Linked DNA regions of Homo sapiens: regions 2 and 3 are each linked to region 1. Evidence: promoter capture Hi-C in 16 types of primary human blood cells and fetal thymus (Javierre and others, 2016). All regions are on one chromosome and are shown on one strand. The core of a region is centred on a gene start or on the middle of the fragment in contact, and the rest is flanking DNA. Distances in the headings are between cores, read along the strand shown.

The links. Contacts are between HindIII fragments. The CHiCAGO score rates a contact against its expected background, and 5 or more counts as called.
Region 2: a contact is called between a fragment that was not itself captured here and the fragment with the promoter of ARHGAP42 in region 1, in 1 of 17 cell types (erythroblasts). The highest score is 5.6, in erythroblasts.
Region 3: a fragment that was not itself captured here is called in contact with the fragment with the promoter of ARHGAP42 in region 1 in 2 of 17 cell types (endothelial precursors and total B cells); the score reaches 6.9 in endothelial precursors.

Annotation. Positions count from the first base shown.
Region 1 is chr11:100,684,548-100,689,222 of GRCh38, forward strand. It overlaps ARHGAP42 (Rho GTPase activating protein 42), which reads left to right and starts at 2,741. Exons shown (of 24, transcript NM_152432.4): 1 at 2,741-3,285. The coding sequence starts at 3,132. ARHGAP42-AS1 (ARHGAP42 antisense RNA 1) reads right to left here and starts at 3,408. Exons shown (of 2, transcript NR_133571.1): 1 at 3,086-3,408; 2 at 1-1,156. RefSeq lists silencers at 2,111-2,405, 2,456-2,645, 2,946-3,115 and enhancers at 2,342-3,052, 2,766-2,815, 3,136-3,505. The HindIII fragment of the contact is 7,960 bases long and covers 64-4,675 here.
Region 2 is chr11:100,960,505-100,965,179 of GRCh38, forward strand. It overlaps ARHGAP42 (Rho GTPase activating protein 42), which reads left to right. Exons shown (of 24, transcript NM_152432.4): 14 at 411-485; 15 at 1,180-1,264; 16 at 1,905-1,963. Among named protein-coding and RNA genes, the nearest start is that of SNORD13I, 29 kb to the left of the region's middle. The HindIII fragment of the contact is 2,081 bases long and covers 1,357-3,437 here.
Region 3 is chr11:100,942,908-100,947,582 of GRCh38, forward strand. It overlaps ARHGAP42 (Rho GTPase activating protein 42), which reads left to right. Exons shown (of 24, transcript NM_152432.4): 10 at 852-961. Among named protein-coding and RNA genes, the nearest start is that of SNORD13I, 11 kb to the left of the region's middle. The HindIII fragment of the contact is 1,638 bases long and covers 1,359-2,996 here.

The DNA of each region.
Region 1 (4,675 bases), core at 1,491-3,990:
AATCAGGAAAACAAAGAGACATTTCTCTGTGCCAAAGAGCCTGTCAGCCAATAATATTTGCGAAGCTTACCACGCAGCTTACGGTGTCATGTGTTATGAAGTGGAAATTTCTGGACAGGCTATATTTCAATCCATTACATTTGTTTATGAAAACAGGCTTGCAGGTATTGCTGATCTTTTATATAGAAAGTCTATTCTCTAGGAAAGAATCTGGTTCAGTTAATTATGATGGAGAGAATCATGCATGGAAACAACAGTTCAAAACCGACAGTAAACCCACCTCAAAGCAAAAGCATTTCTGGTTTTTCTCAAGTAGCTGTGTTAATGTGGCATAAGAGAAAGCCTGACTAGCAGGTATAATTAAAGTATGAATCATAGGAATAAGCATGAGTAACTATGAAAACACCTACAAGAAATAAGCCCATTATAACATGATAAACTTTAGGGAATCATGAGTGAAGGGTAGGAGAAAAAATCCTAATTCCATGTAAATGCAATGATGGGCCTGAGTGGAAACATATTGATAAACAATAGCATCAATGTATTATTAGTACAGCATCTGTGTGAGGCTGTGGAACACAGCATATTCTGCCTTATGCTTTATGGGTACTTATTTTCCACATTTCCTTTTTCTGAGAACTGCTTGAGGTCACGGATAATGCTTCTGTCTTTTTATAGAAATCACTTCCCCACCCAGACCTTAGTAATGTAGACAGTAGACATAAAACATATCATTACATACATGAATGGGCAAATGATAACCTGTATCATAGAATGTACAATACATCTGCCCTGGCATGTAACACTTTTAAAGAAAACTAAACATTGACATCCAACATATTAAATGCAACTTATGAAACACCAATGATGCATTTTTAAAGACTTAATCACAGTACGATGATTTAATGAAAAACAAGAAGAGAATGTTATATTTTATCGTTTCGTATCTCAGCAGTTTGGCACTGGATTCAGTTGATAGGAACAGCAACATGGCAAAAGTTGAAAGGAAACTGTTTGGCCTGGGTGATTTTTTGTCTTTCAGGCAGAGTAATGAGTAAATACAAAATCACCTCTGGTGAGACACAGTCCACTGGTGTTTATGTCATGTCATTTCATTAACTGACAAACAGAATTACTGCCTCTCCCTTCCCCAAACCTGCAAAAGAAAAAAAAAATTGAAGAGTATTTAGTTAACAAAAACAAATTTAACACTTGGAGTTAAAATGGCTCTAATAGTGACTGGTCATTTTGCCAATATGGGGCCAAAGATGTGAATATGGATGGAAGGTGTTTTGAGATGGAGTCGTTCTGTCACTCAGGCTGGAGTGCGGTGGAGTAATCTCGTAATCTCGGCTCATGGCAATCGCCGCCTCCCGGATTCCAGTGACTCTCCTGCCTCAGCCTCCCAAGTAGCTGGGACTACAGGCGTGCGCCACCAGGCCCAGCTAATTTTTGTATTTTTTAGTAGAAACTGGGTTTCACCGTGTTGGCCAGTATGGTCTCCAACTCCTGACCTCAAGTGATTCTCCTGCATCAGCCTCCCAGAATGCTGGTATTACAGGCGTTAAGTCACTGCGCCTGGCCCATACTGTTTACATTATCTTATCTGTTTTAGGTTTACATGTTATTTTTAATGTTCCTGTACATTTAAAAAATTGAAACCAAGAATCTTGACTGGCTCTGAAACTTAATTGGGAAAAATGTAAAGCACTTTAGTGGAATTTTTCCCATGATCTGTAGAATAGTTTTTAAACAGATGGTTCATATGGACAAAGCAATGAAAATGCAGAAATTAAAAGCAGATCCTTAAGAACAATATCCGAGTTCTCAGAAATCCTATAGATGATGTCAGGACGAGATGTAAAGCAGTCGTTTCTTTTGCTGTCAAGGTTTTAAGAGAACAGAAATTTATTAGGTGAACCTCCACCGGAGGAAGGATAAAGCCTGTGGGTAGGAGTTAACTATTTATTTCAAACTCCAGTCCACTTCAACAATTTGAAAATTTTCCCGCTCCTAGGACAATTCCATCCAGGTGCCAATAGGAGATACTACTATTGTGATGCAAATAGGTATTCTACTAGAAGTAGGAGCACGTAAGCAGAGTGAGGATGACTTGAAAAATCGTCCCACCTTCCCAGCTATGGAGTGGGGGCAGGGGGAAGAAACACCTCCAGGCTGGATCATTGAAGCTGAGGGGTGGGAGAGCGACGGGACAATTTTTCAACGTGGAATTCAAATGCATTCGGTGGGGAAGTGTGAAGTAAAATCTAAACGAACGCTAGACAGTAGTATCTTCCATCTACGCTTCAAAATACTCAGACTTTAGGGAAACTTAACGTTGGTTTTTCTCCCAGAGAATTGTAGGGAGTGGGTGGAGGGGACACTGTTAGGGGAGGTATATTGGGAGTCAGATCCTTTTGTGGAGCGAGGGACCCCGAAGTGTCACCAAGGGCTAGCCGAAACCAGGGGCCCAAGAGGGGACAGGGCTAACACCCCAGCCAAGGCCGGAGCGCAAGCGCGGGGCTGCAGCGCGGGGAGCCCTGGAGCCCAGTGCGGGCGGACGGGTGGGGCAGGAGGGCAAAGGGGCGAAGGGGCGGGGTGGCGCTGGGTGGGAGCGCGGCGGCGGGGAGGAGGGTCTGGGAGCCCGGGTGCGATTTGCAAGCGCTCTGAGCCTGCGTCCGCCGAGGGGGAGGGTTTCCCCAGCCCGGCCGGAGTTGCGGCTGTGCGCTGCTTCTGGCTCACAACGCCGACGACTGTCAAGAGAGTTGGGGAGTGGAACTGCCGGAAGTGTCTGCGCGCCGTGAGAGAAACTTTCCTGCTCCGGCCGCGGCCCGGAGCCTCGCCGCCCCCGCGTTCCGAACGACGATGCGTCCAGATGACAACAACCTGAGGGGACTCGCGCCTCGGCCCGCCGCCCGCGCCTGCGCTCGCCTAGCCTCGGGGGAGGAAGACTGAGCCCGGCGCAGGCGGCGCGGCGCTCGGGGCCCGTTTCCTCCGCGCAATCAGTCCCCTCGCGTCCCGGCGCCTTCCCCGCGATCGCGCGACCCCAGCGCCCGCCGCGGCCGCCGGCTGCCCCCGCCCTGACCTCCGGCCCGGACGTGTCCGCGGCCGCCGCTGGCAGCGCCTGTGCCATGGGGCTGCCCACTCTGGAGTTCAGCGATTCCTACTTGGACAGCCCAGATTTCAGGGAGCGCTTGCAGTGTCACGAGATTGAGCTGGAGCGAACCAACAAGTTCATCAAGGAGCTCATTAAGGACGGCTCTCTGCTCATTGGGGCGTTGAGGAGTAAGTAGGGCTGGCGGGGGAGTGGACACCCGCATCTGGAGAGTCCCCGCGGGGTGCGGGTCCGAAGGGTGGGTTGGAGGAGTCGGAGCTTCTTTTGTTTGAATGGATTTGGGGACAAAAGCTGAAGAGCTCCCCTGCTGGTGGCCAACAAAGTTTGTTCTTGAGGTGTTCTTTACTTACTCACATGTCTACAGGGATGGGGAAAGTTCTCTACAGGGCACTGGAATATATCCTGAGGAAAGTCGTTCAAAGTCATCTCGTTGTGTAATGCTCCTAGGAAGATGTTGGGGACTTTAATTTTTTTTTTTTAATTTATTGTGTCTATTAATAGTTTGAACTAAAAAAGCCCTTAAGGGGGGAATCAAGAGTTTGTCTTAAAGATAAAATTAGGCTAGTTTAGTGATATTGAAAGAAAATTATTAATGTCTCTCATACGTCAGTGGCTCTTCATTGGACACAGTCATTGAGTTGGCTTTTTAAAAAGCATACATTTGCAGTTTTGCCATTTTGTAAGATAATGGAAGACAGCAAGGCACCAGTGCATTTTAACTCTGCAAGTTTTCTGTGCGTCTTAGTTTTGGTTTGCATTGTGTGGGTGTTGGGTGTGTCATTGGGATGAAAGTTAAGGGGTTAAAGGCCAATCAGAACTTTTGATGATCTGTAGAATATAAAGACTGTTATAGTCTATAATATAGGGCTTCTTCCACCTCCTTTCCCATACACCTCTTGATCAAATTTTCCTTCCTCCTTTTATCCTCTGGATCTTAGCTTTCAATTCCTAAGACCTAAGAGTATCTGAAACTGAAGAGTTTCTCTTACAGAGAATTGAGCACAATTACATGATATGGCTTGTTACCTTTCCCAGGAGGTATTTGCATCTTTTAAAAAATTTATTTTTATTTATTTATGTATTTATTTATTTTCCATCTTCAAAGGAGCCTGTGAAAAGTATTTGCATCTTAATAGAGGCTTCTGGATGTTTTAGCTACTGAAATGAAGCCGTGGAATCTCTGGTCACTTAAAGCTGGGTGAGTGAGGTACTTTCAAAAGGTAGAGAGACCTTTGGGTGATCTAGTTACCCCCAGGACATATATGGGGGCATCATCTTTGTATAACAACATGATAGGGATGTGTGCGCCTAAAACTGAGACAATACTAGTATCGGATCTATATTTTGAAACATGTATTAACAGTAAGGAGAGAGCTTAGCAAGATGTCTTGAAATTAATGTGCTCCAAAATATCTTTTAATCATCCCAAATGTTAAAACATTTACTTAACCACTTGTGTTACTTAACCAAGGTAAAGATAATATATTTTATGCCCATATTCACTTAATTTCTGAATTTGAGGCTACTACTAATAATGGTATTTACTGTGATTTGTGAAAA
Region 2 (4,675 bases), core at 1,147-3,646, 280 kb after region 1:
AGTAGTTTCCTTGAATTCTCTGAATCTGTTTCCTCATCTCTAAAATGAAGATATAAATGCCATAGGACTTTTCAACATGCAGGAGGACTCCATGACTCTGAAGAAATAGAATATGAGTAATATCGATCATCCCTTCCCATCTCCATTGCTTTTTTATATTCAAATAATGGTGAATAGGCAGCTACACTTTGCTACTTTGAAGATCTTCAAAGACTTTCAAATCACTGTTCAGTGTCTGCTCTGAGAAATAGAAGTCTGATGGGTATTTCCAGGATAGCTTTGCTAAAGTTAGACTGTGAAATTGGATAAGTAGCTTTCAAATTTTGTTAGGCATATGTCTGAGTTTTTAACATTCTGTACTTGCCAAGCTGTATCTCAAGCCGTTTTCTTGTGATTTTCCTTCCTATTAGGTATCACCATTTTAGGACTCTACCGAATAGGAGGAGTGAACTCCAAAGTTCAAAAACTCATGAATACCACATTTTGTAAGTTTTGGATGAAGCAACTTACATAATTTTTGTGTTCTTATAGGTAATCTAAAGTATGGACTTCTTTGACTAGTGCTTGTCTTTGAATATTTTCAAATAATATTTAAAGTTCATATATGTATTCAGTTTTTAATGTTCATTTATAATAGATGAACGATGAGAATTTGAGGGGGCATTTTTATAATACTGTATTTTTTTTCCCCAAGTGTCCTTTGGTAAGCTAGAGATACAATAAGATGCATGGATGCTAGCTGGAGTCATTTGGAATCCTAGCTCAGCCACTTACAGGTTTTGTGACCTTGAGTAATTTGCTTAACGTCTTTGTGTCTCAGCCTCCTCATTTATAAAAATAGGGATAATAATGGTACCTGCCTCTTAAGAGTTGTGAGGATTGACTATGTTAATCTCCGTAAAGCACTTAGAAGCATGCTAGGCACATGGTAAGTGCTCTGTCATGTTAACAATTAGCAATAATTTCATTTGGGAGACTTATTTCATAAGATATATCTTTGAGGTTTAGTGTCAGCTTTTTATCAATTCACGCAAACAACAGTACTAATGTTAACTCTTGGCATTCTAAGAAATGAATACCTCTCTCTTTTGACCTACTTACGTTTGTGCCCATTTTTCATAATTGCATAAGAAATATTTTGAACTGCACAATTTAAACACCTTGTTTTATTCTTTCCAGCTCCTAAATCCCCTCCTGATATTGATATTGATATTGAACTGTGGGACAATAAGACGATAACAAGTGGGCTGAAAAACTACCTCAGGTGAGGAGGGTTTAACTCCTGGTACTCTGGATGTAATCTCTGACTCACCCCTTGAGTAGTAACCACGTGATTTCTTGGAGCCTGTGTCCAGAAGCTTCACTCAGTAGCTCAGTTCCCTTACATAAGGTGAAATAGCATGACATGGTAACATTTACATTTAGTGTTCTGGAACTTGTACTTGATTTTTTCAATAATAATTTAAAAGGCTATATAATATTTTGAGTACTGAATTAGTATTTGTTGTCCCATATGTATATGGGATTTTTATGTACTTTTTTAAATAACAAATTGGAATGGAAAGTTGTGTTGTTTTTGTTTTGTTTTTTAACTATTGTTCCCATATTTGTTCCTCTGGTAAGGTAATTCTGATATTGGGAGACTCCCAGTCTCCCCTCTTAATACAGTCATGGAAAGAAGTACATTGGTGTCTTCGAGGTCTGCGTTTCAGGTCTCTCTGTGGCCCCACTACTGGAACTTTATCATACTGCCAAATCACCCAATTCTTTTATTTACTTATTTATGTGTTATTTTATTTTTAATTGATGAATAACAGTCACCTAATTCTTAAAGAAACACTTAACGTTTAGGGGAGAATAAAAGATTCTACTATTCTAACATGTGTTTCCTTTCTCTGTTGTAGGTGCCTTGCAGAACCACTGATGACTTACAAGTTGCACAAAGATTTTATCATTGCTGTTAGTAAGTATACTTGCATCATATACACATTATAATTGATGTAGTTTTATGCTGCCATACTTAGGCATATATTACTAGTATCAGCTAGTGAAGATTTTTTTCAAGTATTGCTTAAAAAGTTGTTAATCTGGGCCGGGTGCGGTGGCTCAAACCTGTAATTCCAGCACTTTGGGAGGCCAAGGCTGGCGGATCACCTGAGGTCGGGAGTTCGAGACCAGCCTGACCAACATGGAGAAACCCTGTCTCTACTAAAAATACAAAATTAGCTGGGCATGGTGGCACATGCCTGTAATCCCAGCTGCTCGGGAAGCTGAGGCAGGAGGATCACTTGAACCCAGGAGGCGGAGGTTATGGTGAGTCGAGATCGCGCCATTGCACTCCAGCCTGGGCAACAAGAGCGAAACTCCATCTCAAATTAAAAAAAAGAAAAAAGTTGTTAATCTGATATTTAGTAATTTATAATGTGTTTTAGAAGCCAATAAGAAATTGCAGAATTAACTGAAATATTTTGACACTTAGTGAGACCTCATTGGGTAAGTGTGGTGATTATAAAGAACCATGAGGAATTATTATTCTAATTTCATTTTATTTGAATGACAAATACCAGTTTCTTTTAAGAGCAACTAAGCAGGACTCTAAATACGTACAGACGATTATGTCCCTGCACATGCTCATGTGCTGTATTCCTCAATCTGGAGATGAGTCAAATATTTTTGGCAGACAGCAGGTGCTTCCATCAATCCCCTCTCCCTCATATTTTATTTGCAATGATCACATTTATGTCATTTGTTTAGATCTGTGATTGCCGTCATATGATATGAATAGATAGATCAATTTAAAATATTAGCAGGAAGAGTTGACATATGTTATCTGAGAAGTTAGTAACGTGTATTTGTAAACCATTGAGACTGAAGTGCCAGGTACCATCTGAGCCCATCACAACAACCTGTAACAATTAAGAGCTGGCATTTCATTGTTAAGATGTATGAGGTGTGACTACAACCAGATTATTTTTCACAATCCAAGAAATAAATTAGTTGCTTTAGTTTATTTGCACACATTGTAATGTCACAGGAAATGTGTGCTGATAAAAGTGTCAGATAAAGTTGAATGACCTCGGTTTTCAATCCAGCATTTATGACTAACCACATGATCTCATATAAATCTACACTATTTAGTTTTCTCTTGAAGCTCTCCACTCTACCTCCTCTTCATAGAAATCTTTGTAAGACATACAGGACCAGAAAAAATATATAATCTGACCTCTCATTCTATGAACTAGGAAATCAGGACACAAAGTGGGCAAGTAACATGTACAATGACCCTAATAAATTCATGGCAAAATCAGGGCTGCAAGCCTGTTTTTTGTTCTTTTTACTCTTAACCCAGAACCCTTTCTTACAGAAATTTTGCTTTATAACAAAAGAAATTTGAGCTACTTGGCTAAAATGGCTCAATGAGCTTATTGTTTTAGTCAAGCTTTTGGTCACAAGTTTTTTCTCCATTTGCTTCTGTGGCAAATGATGATTATATTATTATAATAATATTCATGACTATGATATTTAAAATATCTTATATATCTTATATATAAGAACTCATCTTTTGTCTGGACCTAACATAGCCATATTTACTAGATGTGAAGTTAAGAAAATTAGGTTATTTGGTTTCAAGCAGCAAAAGTCCAGCTCAGTATAAAGGGGAAGTTATTCAGATCCTAAGAGATATTTCAGTGAATTCCTTGGCAGAACAGAGGTCAGGGTTTCCATGAGCCTGCAACCAGGAACTGCCAAGTTGGGATTTGACATTTCTCTACTCACTCTTTCTGGAGGATCTCTCATCTTTGTTCTCTACTGTATTTCTATCATTCTCACTTTCCTTCCCAGTCAGATTTTCTTGGAGTAGATTTGGTCACTTCAGCCCTGATTTTACATTATCTGCCTTTTCACATATGCGGAAAGATCAGATTTTTGATGTCTCCATTCCAATTGCTAGGTTAGACCTCATGTTTAGCCTGAGCCAGGCTCTTTCCTCACTCCATGTCTAAATAACTGCGCCCAGATGAAATGGTAGTCCCATAATGTGAATCCTATGAGTCAAGGTACTTTCTGGAGAAAGAATTTGGTATAGTGGGCAATCATCCCAGAATTTATTTGCTGCAGTAAGAGAATGTTAAGTGAAGCTTTCTTGTTCTGAAATGTTAGACATTTCTCCAGCAGACATGTCAACATCTTAGCTTTGACTTGGCAGACGACACTTGCCATAAATGAGTTCTTACATTTTACATTTACCGTTGTCATTATGGGCTAAAAATCTGTTGGGCTTGTGTTTATGTAATAATGCTAACATTTCAGAACAGCCCTTCTGTATTGTCTTTATATTTGTAAGATAAGGAGAGGAATCTGGGGCTTCATCTGGTCACACTGGGTTGAATCTCTAGGAGCTCTCTGTGGGTGTATTGCCACACTGCTATGAAGAAATATCCAAGACTCAGTAATTTATAAGAAAAAGAGGTTTAATTGACTCACAGTTCCGCAGGGCTGGGAAGGACTCGGGAAACTTACAATCATGGTGGAAGGTGCCTCCTCACATGGCAGCAGGAGAGAGAAGTGCTGAGGAAAGGGGGAAAAGCCCCGTATAAAACCATCAGATCTTGTGAGAACTCACTCACTATCAAGAGAACAGCATAGGGTAACCGCCCAATGATTCCATTACCTC
Region 3 (4,675 bases), core at 928-3,427, 260 kb after region 1:
TGAGTTAATAATGTAAGTAGACCAAGCCAAAGTTCTATTAATCAATTGATGACATTTGTAGCCAAAGATAGAATTAACCATACATTCTGTAAATGTTCCCCTTAACATAGACTGGCATCTCAGTGACAAAAGAGAATTCCTATGAATGTGGCCTATGTTGGATCTTGTCCAGAGAGTCAGTTTTAGTAGCGGTGTAGCAGTGGGTTACCAGCAAAACAATCACATTGTATTAGGTTGGTGCAAAAGTAATTGCTTTTTTTCCCATTACTTTTAATGGGAAAACCATAATTACTTTTGCACCAACCTGATATACATGGTAGCAATACTATTATATCATGTATATACTGGAACTATATTATTTCCGTAGCTCTCTTGTAAACCTGAGCTAGTTATCATTTAAGGCTCTAATACAAAGACACACATATGATACTAATCTCTTTGCAATCCAGGGAGTTTTGATTAAGAGCACCAAATGTATCCTAACAAGCACTCTGTATATCCAATTGTGATGTTAAGTGACTGTGTAACTTCATACGTTTTCTAAATCTAAGAATTGAGGGATTGTACATTATAGTATAATTTAACATTGTAAGTAAATATGTTGAAGGTTACTGGACAGGCATGTTACATAATTCTTTTAAATAAAACATGCATATGCCATTAATTAAATGGTTTTATGTATTATGATCGGACAGCTAACATCAGGAATAAAAAAAGACAGGGTATGATTGTGACCTTTATACATAACCTATACTGTTAAACATTTTAATGTGGCAACTTGAGCTCACATATTTAATATATTTCAATTCACTTGTCAGCATGTTAATACTGTGGTACTCTTCTTGTTTCAGAATGGCCTTGTTACTAGCTCACCGGAAATGTTTAAATTAAAATCTTGTATCCGACGAAAGACAGATTCAATTGACAAACGATTCTGCTTTGACATAGAAGTAGTTGAAAGGTTTGAGCTGTTCTTTTCACTTTATTTTTTTCATAAGCTAAACGGTGTCTCTTTCTGTATTTAAATATAAACATGAAACAGCATTCAAGTGTTTTTTAGTCTTTTAAAAAACAGTATACATGTTTATCTCTTTCTTTCATGTTGTTATTACATGATGCTTTCGAAAAAGCAAATCAGATCCATGATGCTAGAAAACAGTAGCATCACTCAAAGCAGAATCTGAAAAATCAATATAAATGACTGTATTAGGAGAAAGTGCATGTAGTGGCCTCATGGTCCCCATCATCATGAAGGAATCCAATGGCATATTTCATGGCTCCAGGATCAGCCTTTTGGTGGGCTTTGGAAGCTTGGTGGCCTTGCTTCTAAGGAATAAGATGCAGGTGGGAATACTATAAGCTTCTTTCAGCCAACTAAGTTTAATGCCTCCAGGATGCCTCCTGTGTGCAAAGCACTGTTCCGGGTATTCTTAGCCCAAAGTATTGGAAGAGATATAAATGTCGTGAATCTAAGTGTATAATTTAAGTTTACAATAAGAATGGGTATGCTTCTTGCTCTCTGCTCTGTAATCCATGATCTATCTTTCTTCTCCTGCATTAGTGCCACAATATTCTAAATACACTAGCTTATTGTGTGTATCCATGTATACCCTTTGTATATGATGACTTTCTATATATGCTCATAAACTACAGCCTATAGCTACAGGCATACCTCAGAGATATTGCAGGTTAGGTTCCAAACCACTGTAATAAAGCGAATATCATAATAAACTGAGTCACAGAAATTTCTGAGTTTCTCGGTGCATATAAAAGTTATGTTTATGCTACACTGCAGTCCATTAAGTGTGCAATAGCATTATGTGTAAAAAATATACATCCCTTAAAATATTTTAAGTAATGTGAATGGTCATCTGAGTCTTTAGTGAGTAGTAATTTTTTTGCTGGTGAAGGATCTTGCCTCGATGTTGGTAGCTGCTAACTGATCAGCATGGTGGTTACTGAAGGATGGGGTGGCTGTGGCCATTTTCTTAAAATGAGACAGCAATAAAGTTTGCCACATCAATTGAATCTTCATTTCAACAAAGATTTCTCTGTACCATGCAATGCTGTTTGATAGCATTTTACTCAGTAGGGCGTCTTTCAAAATTGGAGTCAGTCCTTTCAAACCCTGCCCTACTGCACTGTCAGCTAAGTTTATATGATATTCTAAATCCGTTGTTGTCATTCAAAAACGTTTATAGCATCTTCACCCGGAGAAGATTCCATCTCAGTAAACCACTTTCTTTGCCCATCCATAAGAAGCAACTAGTCCTTTCAAGTTTTATTATGAGATTGCAGCAATAAAGTCACATTTTCTAGAAGGCTCCACTTCTAATTCTAGCTTTTTTGCTATTTTCACTACATCTGCAGTAACTTCCTCCACTGAAGTCTTGAACCCCTCCAACTCATCCCTGAGAGTTGGAATCAATTCTTTCAAACTGCTGTTAATGTGGATATTTTGGCTTCCTCCCACGAGGGACAAATGTTCTTAATGACATCTAAAGTGATGAATCCTTTCTAGAAGGTTTTCAGTGTACTTTACCCAGATCCATTAGAGGAATCACTACTTATGGCCGTGAAAGCCTAATGAAATGTGTTTCTTAAATAATAAGACTCAGAAGTCTAACTTATTCCTCTTATTCCTTGATCCATGTGCTACATAATATATGTTGTGTCAGCAGGCATGAATATATTATTCTCCATTTAAATCTCTATCAGAACTCTTGGGTGACTAGTTGCATTGTCAATGGGCAGTAATATTTAGAAATAAACCTCTTTAATCAGAAGGTCTCAACAGTGGCTTAAAATATTCAGTAAACCTTACTGTAAACAGATGTGCTGTCATTCAGCCTTTATTGTTCCATTTGTAGAGCACAGGTAGAGTAGATTTAGCATAATTTTTAAGAACCCTAGGATTTGCAGAATGATATATGAACATTGGCTCTGACTTTAAGTCACCAGTTACATTAACCTCTAACAAGAGTCAGCCTATTTGAAGCTTTGAGGCCAGATAGTGACTTCTTTCTATTTGTGGAAGTCTTAAATGAGGGCATCTTCCAACAGAAGGCTATTTCATCTACATTGAAAATCTGTTGTTTACTGTAGCCACCTTCATCCATGATTGTAGCTAGATCTTCTGTATAACTTGCTGCAGCTTCTACATCAACTCTTACTGCTTCATCTTATACTTTTATATTATGCAAATGGCTTCTTTCCTCAAACATCATGAACCAACTTCTGCTAGGTTCATACTTTTTTTCTGCAGCTTACTCACCTCTCTCAGCCTTCATAAAATTGAAGACAGTCAGGGCCTTGCTGTGGAAAAGGCATTGGCTTAAGAGAATGTTATGGCTGGTTTGATCTTCTATACACACCACTAGAACTTTCCCCATGTCAGTAGTAAGGTTGTTTTGATTCCTAGCGTTTGTGTATTCACTGGAGTGGCACTTTTAATTTCCTTTAATAATTTTTCCTTTGCATTCACAGCTTGGCTAACTGATTGGCACAAGAGACCTAGTTTTTAGGCTATCTTGGGTTTCAACATGTCTTTCTCACTAAGTTTGGTCATTTATAGCTTTTGATTTAACATGAGAGACATGTGAATCTTCCTTTCCCTTGAACACTTAGAGGTCATTGTGAGATTATTGATTGGACTAATTTTAATATTGTTGTATCTCAGGGAATAGGGAAGCTAAGGGGAGGGAAAGAGATGGGGAAATGGCCAGTCAGTGGAGCAGTGGCACACACAACTTTTATTGACTGTTTGCCATCTTATGTGGACATGGTTAATGGCACCCCAAAATAATGACAATAGTAATATCAAAGATCACTGTTCATACATCACATGATAGATATAATAACAATGAAAAATTCCAAATATTGCAAGAATCACCAAAATGTGATACAGAGACACGATGTGAGCAAACGCTCTTGGAAAAATGGTGCTGATAGACATGCAGAACACAGGGTTGACACAAACAAACCATCAATTTGTTAAAAATGCAGTATCTGCAAAGCTCAATCAAGCAAAGAGAAATACATCAAGGTTTGCCTGTATCTAGTAGGGCAATGACTGTATTCCTAGGCTGCTGTAAACTGTGTTGACTCTTTTGCTCTGTGTTCTTATGATTTTTAAGATCCACTTACTAAGTTTCTCCTTGTTTCTCAAAATATCTTTTGGGATTTTGACTGAAGTTGCAGTAAAGTCTTCAATGGGTGTGGAATTAACCTCTTTTTGAATATTTTACATATCTTTTTTCAAATTTACTTTTGAGTACCTTCTTTTTATTGTTGTTTTGAATAGGATTCTTCTTTATGAGTTGAATTTTGTTTTCCTAAATGGTTAAGACTACTGCATAAAGAGGCTGTTAGTTTATTTATATATAATTCTCTTATCTGACCTATTTGCTGAACTATTTATTAGTTTTAATAGTTTTGTGTAGATATTTCTGGATTTTCTATGTAGACAAATACCAACATGTTAATGCTTTGTCTTAACACATTCCGGTTATATAACCTTGGAGCACTTTATTAAACTCTGTACTTAGGTTTTTTCATCTTTAAATTAAGGATAATAAGTACCCACCTCAAAGAATTGTTTTCAGGATTAAATGAGAGAATTAAGGAAACATAACACAGTGCCTGTCACATAGTAAATATCCAACAAATACTGATT